3 separate regions of the Homo sapiens genome follow, and regions 1 and 3 are each linked to region 2. Evidence: promoter capture Hi-C in human tissues and cell types (Jung and others, 2019). All regions are on one chromosome and are shown on one strand. Each heading gives the region's core, a stretch centred on a gene start or on the middle of the fragment in contact. The rest is flanking DNA. Distances are from core to core; before and after follow the strand shown.

What was found. The method cuts DNA at HindIII sites, captures the fragments that hold promoters and counts their contacts. A contact is called where the count stands out against the background at its distance.
Region 1: a contact is called between a fragment that was not itself captured here and the fragment with the promoter of ZNF423 in region 2, in 2 of the 25 tissues and cell types used here (H1 embryonic stem cells and mesenchymal stem cells).
Region 3: a fragment that was not itself captured here is called in contact with the fragment with the promoter of ZNF423 in region 2 in 2 of the 25 tissues and cell types used here (lymphoblastoid cells and mesenchymal stem cells).

The regions. Positions count from the first base shown.
Region 1 is chr16:49,685,105-49,688,260 of GRCh38, forward strand. All of the region lies in intron 3 of ZNF423 (zinc finger protein 423), which reads right to left. Among named protein-coding and RNA genes, the nearest start is that of ZNF423, 170 kb to the right of the region's middle. The HindIII fragment of the contact is 5,543 bases long and covers 1-3,156 here.
Region 2 is chr16:49,854,853-49,857,922 of GRCh38, forward strand. It overlaps ZNF423 (zinc finger protein 423), which reads right to left and starts at 1,260. Exons shown (of 8, transcript NM_001379286.1): 1 at 883-1,260. The coding sequence starts at 922. RefSeq lists a silencer at 504-763. The HindIII fragment of the contact is 13,140 bases long and covers 1-3,070 here.
Region 3 is chr16:49,621,617-49,624,866 of GRCh38, forward strand. The region is part of intron 5 of ZNF423 (zinc finger protein 423); the gene reads right to left. Among named protein-coding and RNA genes, the nearest start is that of LINC02179, 160 kb to the left of the region's middle. The HindIII fragment of the contact is 3,324 bases long and covers 1-3,250 here.

The DNA.
Region 1 (3,156 bases), core at 371-2,870, 170 kb before region 2:
CCCAGCCAGGCACAACAGCTCAAGCTCAAGCTCAGGGCCTCCCTCTGGAAGGTAGCAGCCCCCAAAACTCAACATCTGAAGTTGGAGGAGGAGGCAGCCCAGGGCAGAATCTTCCCCCATCAAGCAGCATCCCCATCCCAGCAAGTTTTAACTGATCTGCAGCCTTCTAGAGCAGGTCTCCACAACAGATATTAACAAGGCACCTACTGTGTGCCAGGCATGGACTAGGTGGGCTCAGCTAGGGATAGAGCAATGGAGGTTCCTGCTCACATGCAGCATGGGGTCTTGAGGGGACTGAGCAGCAGCCAGGGTCTAGTTCCTTGGACTGACACCCCACTGTCCCTACCAGCTTTGTCCCCCAGGCCCCTGCCCTGGTGCAGTTCAGTCAGAAAAGGGGAAAGACTTCTCTGCCTCCAATCCTATTCCTCCTTCAGCGCTGTGTATTTCAGGAGAGACCCCTCTGTTCACCTCGATGCCCAAGCCAGGAAACCAGGGATCCTCCTGGGTTTCTCCAAAATTTAATCCATTTCCACACCTTGTCAACGTGGTCCCTAGGACGGCTCTCGCACACACCCTCTGTTCTCGGTCCCCACTGCCTGCAGCACCATCCTCTCCATGTCCCCACCTGCCCACGCCCGTCCTTGACAGGGCATTGGCAGGAACTCTGCCAAGGATGAGTCTGAGGATGCCAAGACCCCCACCACCCACACTGCTCCTAGAACATAATACAAATGCCCCACCTGGTCCCACCCGTACACACGCTCTGCTGGCTCACCACGCTCCCCCATGCTGCCTACCACCAATCCCCCCAACATGCCAGCGCCCTCCTGACTTGCAGTCTTCAAACCTTCCGTCTGGATGGCTATCCCCATAATTTCTATTCATTGTTTCGCCCTCGTTTCCAGTGTCCATTCTTCAAAGAAGCCTTTGCTTCTCTCTCATGCCCCATGCTCTTCCTTCCAGATGCTTCCACGCCTAGAAGATAAACGTAGCTATTTATGGGGTGGTTTGTCTAGCTGTCCTTCTCCCCCACAGACTGGAAGCTCCACAGGGGGAGAGTCCAGGCCTGTCCAGCTCACTGTTGTATGCCCAGCACTCAGCACACAGCCTGGCACAAAGTAGGTGCTCAATTAATATGCATTAATTCATATTAATTATGAAAGTCCTGCTGCTTGAGTCTCGGGTAGGCAGGCAGGAAGGCCAGCCTCGCAACCTTCCTTAGCATCATCCAAAGTGCAAGGCGGGTCTCACAGAGGCTCTGTCTTCCATGCTGGGGCAGGAGGGGACCACACCGTCATGAATACCAGGCACGTAGTGGAGGTGACATGAAGCCTCAGGTATCATGTACAAAAACCTTCTGGCCCTGTGGAGCTCACTGCCAGGAAGCAGCCCTGCAGCCACTCGGAGTACACAGGCCTGCGTACGCCCCACACGGAGGATGCAGGTCCCCTGTCAGTGCCCTCCCAGCCTTTCCTGCCAGACCCACCACACTTGAGTGGCCTGGACGCTCCAATCACCCCCTCTCCCACCACACCCAGGCTTCCTACCTGCCAGGCTTCCTACCTACCTTACTATCACTGTCCCCTGACCAAGGCAGACCTCTTCTTCTCATCTCTAAGAGATTTCCCATAAAGACCCAAGTGACTGGCTTCTCTTGGAAATCTAGAAGCCATGGACAGGAACAGATGGAGGAGCAAGCATGATCTCGACTCACCAGCCCCGCCAGCCTGTACCCATGCTTCCTCACCTCCCAGGCAGAACCCCCATCATCATCAGAACCTGCGATCCCTGCACCAGCCTCGCATCCCCATCCCACCTTGGATCGCATGTTCCTAACCATGGAGAAGGCCTCACCTTCTCATCTCTGTCTGCCCCAGGGTCTCCTGCCTGGAGGGAAGCCCCAGGAAGGGTGTACAGAAGAACCAGATGGCGACACCCCCTCCATGTCTGCCACCTCCCCACATCTGGCAGAGCACCCCTATTTCATCTTGGGTACCTGAGTTACTGTTCATACACCACCCCCGTGGTTTGTCCCCTATAGTTTATTAACATCCACTAATAAACAGTGGGCAGGCCTCCCAGGGCGCCACCAAGAGACCCCTGGCTGGGTGGGCAGGGCCTTCCTTGTCCTGCCCTCTCTCAACACATTTTTCACCATAAGGGAACAATTAGGAAAAACTCCCTCCAGGTTATATTTAGGAAGGGGTGGAAGTGGGGGAAGCTTCCTCTAGTAATTTTCATTCAGTTGCACAGGACTGCCTGTCCCCACCTACCCCTGGGCTAGCACTGCAGGGCAGGCAACCGCCTCTCCCCACACACGGGTGCAAACCAAGCCCAGCCTCTGCCCAGCCCTGATTATGCCCGCGTTTAAAAATAAGATGTGAAAGATGCATTATGTAAGACCTGTAACACTCTCCTGCCCACCTCCGACTCTAGAATCAAAGATCTTCATTTCTGCCATCAAAAAAGAATGAAAGAAAGGCAGGAACAATGAAAATAGCTGCCCAACATGAGCCAGATCAAAGACATGGGCACAGAAAATGAGGAACCAGGGGGGCCTTTAATTACTGCCTGCATCCTCCGAGTCATGTGGAGAGAGGGGAGAAGAAAAGTTTTGAAGGCCACCAGGTTCCGTCCTGCTGCGGCTCCTGTTTCCACAGCCAGCACCAGTTCCCGACAAACTCGTGCCTTTCATTTCCCTCCCTTTTTTCCCTCCTTTTTCTCTGCCCCCCACATGTGAGACAGGACTCCCAGACTCCCCAGTGCTTGACGTCCTCCAGCAGAGAGAGCTCAGAGGGGCTCCTTGGAGACCCCAAGGGAGGGACACGGCTGCATCTTGGAAGGTCCTGGTGGGTCCCAACCCATCTGCCCTCCCAAAAAACAGCCAGAGGGCCTCCAGGAGGGACCCAGGGACCCACAGTGGGAGCGGGTGCTGCAGACCACGGTGCGGTTTTTTTTTTTTTTTTCGCAAGTCTCCCTGGTTGAGAGGGAAAAAAAAAAAAAAAACTCTTCAAATTCACATTGGGCAGGGCTCCGTGGGGCAGCAGATCAAACCTGAGGCCCGGCTGTTTGAGCTCAGCGGCAGAAAAAAGGATTGCCCAGGGACCGAGCTTAAGTAGAAGCTGGATTAAACTTCAAACACAAACTCCTCCTTTT
Region 2 (3,070 bases), core at 10-2,509:
GCTCCCCACAAACGCGCGCACCCCGGGGAGCCAGCACAGAAAGCCGGCCTGGGTGTCGAGGGTGCCGGTGCCCGGGGTCAGATCCAGGGTGCCGGTGCCCGGGGTCAGATCCGGGGCGCCCTCCGCGGAGGGGCGCGCACCGCGGCCGCTGAGCTCCCCTGAGGACCTGCGTCCCGCCGGCGCCGTGCAGACAATGAACTCCTGGCGGAGGCTCCCTGCCCGGTGGGCCTCGGTGGAGGAGGCAGGAAGTGCAGGGGCCCGGGCCGGGAGAAGGCCTGGGCAGGGGCGGGAGGGGGCGCCAGGCGGCCGGGGCGAGGGCGCGGCGCCCGGGGCGCTCGCCGACAGCGCCCGCCGCTCCCCGCGTCCTCGGGCGACCAGGCAGGGGCCAGAGAGAGCCAGCGAGGCCCGGGGCCAGCGAGGAGCGGTCGGCCTGCCGGGCGCCCGTCCTCGCCGCCTCTTCCTTCCTCCTGTCGCCCGCCCGCCGCCGCCGAGATTCGCAATCCCCGCCAAGTCGGGCCAGCACCCCTTGATTGGCCACACGGGCCCGGGCCCCGCACGGAGGGAGCGGCAAGGGCCCCTTAGCGGCGCCCCCAGGCCTGGGTCCCCCAAGGGCGACGGCGCCGAGTCCGGGCAGGGAGGGTGTCCGCGGCGTACCCCCTCCGCCGCCGCCGCCGCCGCCGCCGCCTCCGCCTCCTGCTCCCGGCTTCCTCCTCCCCCTCCTCCGCCTCCGCCTCCGCCTCCGCCTCCTCTGCCGCCTCCTCCTCCTCCTCTCGGCTCGCTCGCGCGGGTCCCCGGCAGCCAGCCCGCTCGCCGGTCCCTCCTCCCTCGCTCCCTCCCTCCTCGCTCGCTCGCTCGCGCCTCCGCCGGGCCTCGCTCGCTCACCTTTCACCGAGCGCGGCTTCGCCTGCTTCCGCCTGGACATGTCCGGGGCTCCGGGCGCTCCGTCGCCCTCCGCAGCCGGCTCCCCCCGCCGCCCCCCGCCGCTCCGGGCAGCCCTTCTCCCCCTTCTCCTCCGCCTGTCTCTTGGAAACTTTTTTTTTTGCAGCCCGGTTGGCGGCTGTGGGGAGCGGACCGCAGGTCCGGGGCGGCCTCCCTTGGGGGGGCAGCCCGGGCCGGCCGAGGCCGCTCGAAGGCGGGGGGAGGCCCGGGGGGCGCGCCGGGGCCCTGCCTGTTGCAATGCGGCAGTCCGGGGCTCCCGATCCAAGCGGCGGTCCCAGCGGCGCGGGGAGTCCGGAGGCCACTCGGCCGAGCCGAGTTATGCAAAAAAAAAAAAAAAAAAAAAAAAAAAAAAGCCGCCCCCCTCCTCCTCCCAACCCCCCGCCGGCCCCCGGCCCCTGCGGCCCCCTCCTTCCCTCCCCCACCCTACCGCCACCCTCACCCTCCTCCTCCTTCTCCTCCTCCTCCGCCCCTTGCCGGATTTTTGTGCAAAGTTTGCAGGCGTCCGGCCACGCAGCCCGGTGCGGAGCTCACAATGAACCCATCTGAGGAGGGGGAACGGGGCTGGAGTCGAGGGTATCTCAAGGGGGGAGGAGACCGGGAGGCGGTCGGGAGCGCGGAAGCTCAGTACCCCCCAGGAAAAAAAAAAAAAAGAAGCCTTCGAATTATCCCCTGCCGCACAAAAAAAAATAATAAATATTAATGGCTCAAAAATGCCCAAGCGCCTGGTTTGGAGATTATGATGGATGGGGGGCGGGGGTCCCTCAACTCAGCCTACTTGGAGGGGAGGCTCGAAACGGCCGCAGTGGCTCGGAAGCCGCGGCTCGGGGCCCCTGGCTCACGCCCCCTTCTCTGGCTCTCGGATCGGCCCGGCGCCGGCCCCCCGGAGGAGGAAGGGGCGCGCGGGGGCGCTCAGGCGGCGGCCGGCAGGCGCGCCCGTGCCCCGGGCATCGCTCAGCCCGTGCGCCGGGCCGCCGCTGCCTGCCCTCGGGCTGCGGTGCTCAGCGCGAGGCGCGCAGCCGATCCCCAGGCCGGTGCCAAGTCGCCGGCCCCGCTAGCTGCCTCCATGGGCCAGGGGCTCGGAGAGGGGGGAGGCGGCGGCCGCGGTGGCGGAAGAGGAGGACGAGCAGGCGGCGGCGGCGGCGGCCGGGCTCCCGTCCTCCTGGGCAGCGGCGGCGGCGGCTGCGCCCCGGCTCCTCCGCGCTCCAGCCGGCGCCGGCCCGCCCGCCAGCCTCCCTCGCGCTCCTGTCTTCTTTGTGGTCGCTGGCTCTCCTCCTCCCGATCCGGCTGCTGGGGCTGCACTGCAGAGACACATAATAAAGCCAGGCTTGGCTGGAAATGTAGCCGGGTCCCAGCAGGAGGATGTGAGGAGCGGAGTCCCGGCGGGGGAGCGCTCTGATCCCGTGGGGCGCCCCGCACTGCTCCGGCTCGGATCAGACGGAGAGAGGGCCAACAGCACCGAGCGATGGACAGCGCTGGAAATACAGCTCCGGCCGCCCGCAAAACCCGGACCGTGGTGGCGGCGGCGGCGGCGGCGGCAGGCACGGCGCGGGCGCGGGCACCGCACCAGCACGCGGGGCCGGGGCTCGGGCGCTGGCTGCACCGGGGGCAGGAGGAGGGAACACACTTAGGGCCCACGCGGCTGTCAAGCTCGCCAAGACGCATGAGCCTCACAAACTGTAAAAAGTGAAAGAATGGGGGAGCAAACGGAGTTGGGCTGCCCTAGTATTGCCACCTCGCGATGTATGCCTCACGCACATGAACTATCCAGGGACCTGGCTCTGCCAGGTTGGCTTTTGCCCACCGGTCGGTGTTCAAAGACCACCCCTGCCCCACATCCAACAAATTCTTCCACCACTGGGCTAACCCCGTGCGCCCCCTACACCCTTATTTGTAGAATTCTCGCGCCTGGTGTGCACTTCCTCTGTCCGACTGTAAAAGGAACACCTTACCCCTGAGACCTTGCAGGAGCACCCCCTCCCCGCGCAGTTGTCAGAAGAAATAAACCAGCTGCTACTTTCTGCGAGGTTTTACCCAGCCGCCAGGGGGCGCCGCGCGTCCCCCGCAGCTCCTGAACCGGCTGAGACTCTGGTCTCCGGGCAGGCCCGGGAAGGGTTCTGACTTGGGAAAAGTC
Region 3 (3,250 bases), core at 390-2,889, 230 kb before region 2:
CTTCTACCCACCAAGTCCCCCTGGTGCCACTAAGGGGGACTTTTACCCCCGTCAGCGGCAGGGCAGCCACTCTGGGCTCAGACCATTTAGCAGGAGAAGCCATCCACTGGGACACTGGGCCCCAAAAGATTTACTGGGATTGCAGAGCCAGCCCCAAACCAGGCCTGCAGTGTCTGCCTCTCACCATTTCCCCAGCAGCCTTCCCAAGCCACCAGGGCCAGCCAGAATCACAGCACAAGCCACATCTAAGTTCCATCAACTCCTCTTCTCCCCCTGCCCTGTTCACTCACCCCAGGACCACACCAGGTGGGTCTTCGTTCTCTTCCCAACTGGTTCCTTCTCAACACCGCAGCCAGATTCTTCTTCCTAAGGCTCAGGCCAGGATATACCCTGCTCTGAAACCTTCAATGGCTCCCTAGCGCTTAAGTCCAAGGTTTAAACTCAGGTACCCACAGGGACCAGGCTGGAGACTTAACTGAGCAAGACCATGATGCCTGGGAATGCATGCCTTGCCTACATACAGGAAACTGCTGCTGCTGCTAAGTCACGCCAGGTGGGAATGATGATTGCGGGAATGTGAAGCCCTTGCTGCCACCTCTTGTGGTTTTTCAAGAGAAGCCTAGTAAACCATAGCCAAGGGGCCCCCAAAGTTGGACCCTGGCCTACGGGGTGAAGGACAAACCCTAACCCCTCCACTTGGTATCGGAGGTGCTCCATGGCTCACCCCAACCCCCTCCCCATTCTCACTCCCCACAATGCCTCAGTCTTGGCCAAGCCAAGCACCTACAGCCCCCCAGACTCACCTGCTCTGCTCACCCCCCATCCTGCTATAGGCAGTGGCTCATCACCCTCGCAGCCTGGCAGAAACCCATTGTTCCAGAGCCTCCTCCTGATGTTCAGCCATCTCTCCGAAGGCAACGTCCCCCCTCTTCATCCTTCAATGCCCAGGGGGCCCTGTTCTGGGAGCACCCACATCACTGCACTGCAGTTACCTGCATGCCCATCAGCCTTCCCCTGGAGAGGGAACCCTGAGGTCTCTCCCACCACAGGCCCTGGCAGGGGCTCCAAACACAATGGAGGGACCCTAGCTGTGGTTCAGACTCTGCCTCCATTACTCAGGCTGGAAGGACTTGGGTAACTCACGTAACCTCTCTAAGCCCCGGGTTCCTCATCTGTCAGATGGGGAACTAGTGCCCATGTAAAGTGCCTGGCACATAGAAAGGCTGAGTCAGTAGCAGCTGTTAGCATCCTTATTCAATGTGACCTCTTTGCTGCATGCTATGTGCAGTGTCTTCTATGGGATGATCTCTGAAGCAGAGACCATGTCCCCTGTACTCCCGTCACCCACAGAGACCGCTGCAACTCTCAACATGCCATAGGTGCTCAGTCAAGGTCCTCTGGTAGACTGGGTTGATGAGGCTCGGGGAGGGCAGGCAGGTAGGGAGTGCAGGTTAGAGCGAGAGGGACTGCCCAGCCACCGGAGGTCTGGCTCACCCGGGGTTCCATGCCGCAGTGAACTGGAATCTGCACTCGGGGACCAACCAACCACTCCCTGCTGCCTGCTCTCCAGGCCTCCAACTCCCACGTTCCTGGGCTCCAGGTCAGCTGACAGCGCTGCAGGGCAGGAATGGGCAAGGGGACCTGTCCAGCCCCCCAGCCAAGGCGCCTTCCCTCAGAAGCCCGGCCCACAGCTCATACACAGGCCCAAATGCCCCTCACACCCTCCTTTTGTGTTTCCCACAACTCTAGTTAAGAGCAACCCCCTTGCCTTGCACTTGAGGACACATAGCTTCCAGGCTCTGCACTAAAGGCAAGGTAGAAGAGAGGAGGGAGGGGGCAGAAACACCTCAGAAATCACTGCAGTCCAATTAGCCAGGCTTGCGCCCTTCATGCTTACAAACAGGAACGCGCATTAACATCTGCTACAAAAGCAAACATTTTTAGATATCTTCATCTTCACCTCCCTGACACTCCGTGAAAGGACTCTCAGCAGCCAGTGACTGACAGGGGAGTGCCCCTTCTTATCCTTCAGCAGGGGGCTTTCAGACGGAGAAATTAAGAAGCCACCAATCTCCCTGTCAGGCCAAGCTCCCACAGCCCCCACCTGCTCTTCCTGGGCCCCTCCTCCCCACTCTCCGCCAGGTGAGCCCCACCACACACACGATTGGGAGTCAGTGGCTGCAGGAGACTGGCTCCAAGGCACTGGGGGTAGAGGCTGTCAGATAGGTTGGGGGTCAGGGGGACTGGCCAATGCTGTGGCTAGGTAGGGACCAGGGGACCCATACCTGCCCTGAGAGCACCTTCACTAAAGAAGGGCCTTTGCAATGCAAACCTTAAACAAAACCTTGATGGCTGTACAAATTTGGAGCAAACTCCAACTCTCATACACCACTGGTGGGGGCGTTAAGTCCATACAACCACTTCAGAAATGTATTTGTCAGCATTTACTAAAGGTGAACATCATTTAACCTGTGACTCAGCAAGTCCATCCAAATCCTATATTCCCATTTTATATACATATTTACACATATAAAGAATATAGTATATAACAGTATATAATGTATTATATATAAACGCAAAATATAATATCTATATATTCCTATAATCACAATAAAATCACATACATATGTTCATCAGTAGATATGTACATGGGGCCAGGTATGGTGACTCATGCCTGTAATCCCAGAAATTCGGGAGGCTGAGATGGGCAGATCACTTGAGGTCAGGAGTTTGAGACCAGCCTGGCCAACATAGTGAAACCCTGTCTCTACTAAAAGTACAAAAAAATTAGCCAGGGGAGATGCTGCATGCCTGTAGTACCAGCTGCCTGGGAGGCTGAGGCAGGAGAATCACTTGAACCTGCGAGGCGGAGGTTGCAGTGGGCAGAGATCGTGCCACTGCACTCCAGCCTGGGTGACAGAGTGAGACTCTGTCTCAAAAAAAACCAAACCAAACCAAAACAAAAGAAGACATGTCCATGAATATGCCAGCACTATTTCAGAATGGGCCCATCAAGAATCAAACAGATAAAGAGTGGTTGGCATGCTCCTGTGACAGATTATTATACACCAATGAGAGGCATGATCTCTAACTAGAGGCAATAATGTGAAAAGTGAAAGATGTCAGGTGCAAACGAGTAGAAACTGTGATTCCATTTCCATAAACTAGAAATCAGGCAAAACCAACCTATATTATTAGACATCAGCATCGTGATGACCTGTTGGTGGTAAGGGAGGGCCTGAAGGAGCCC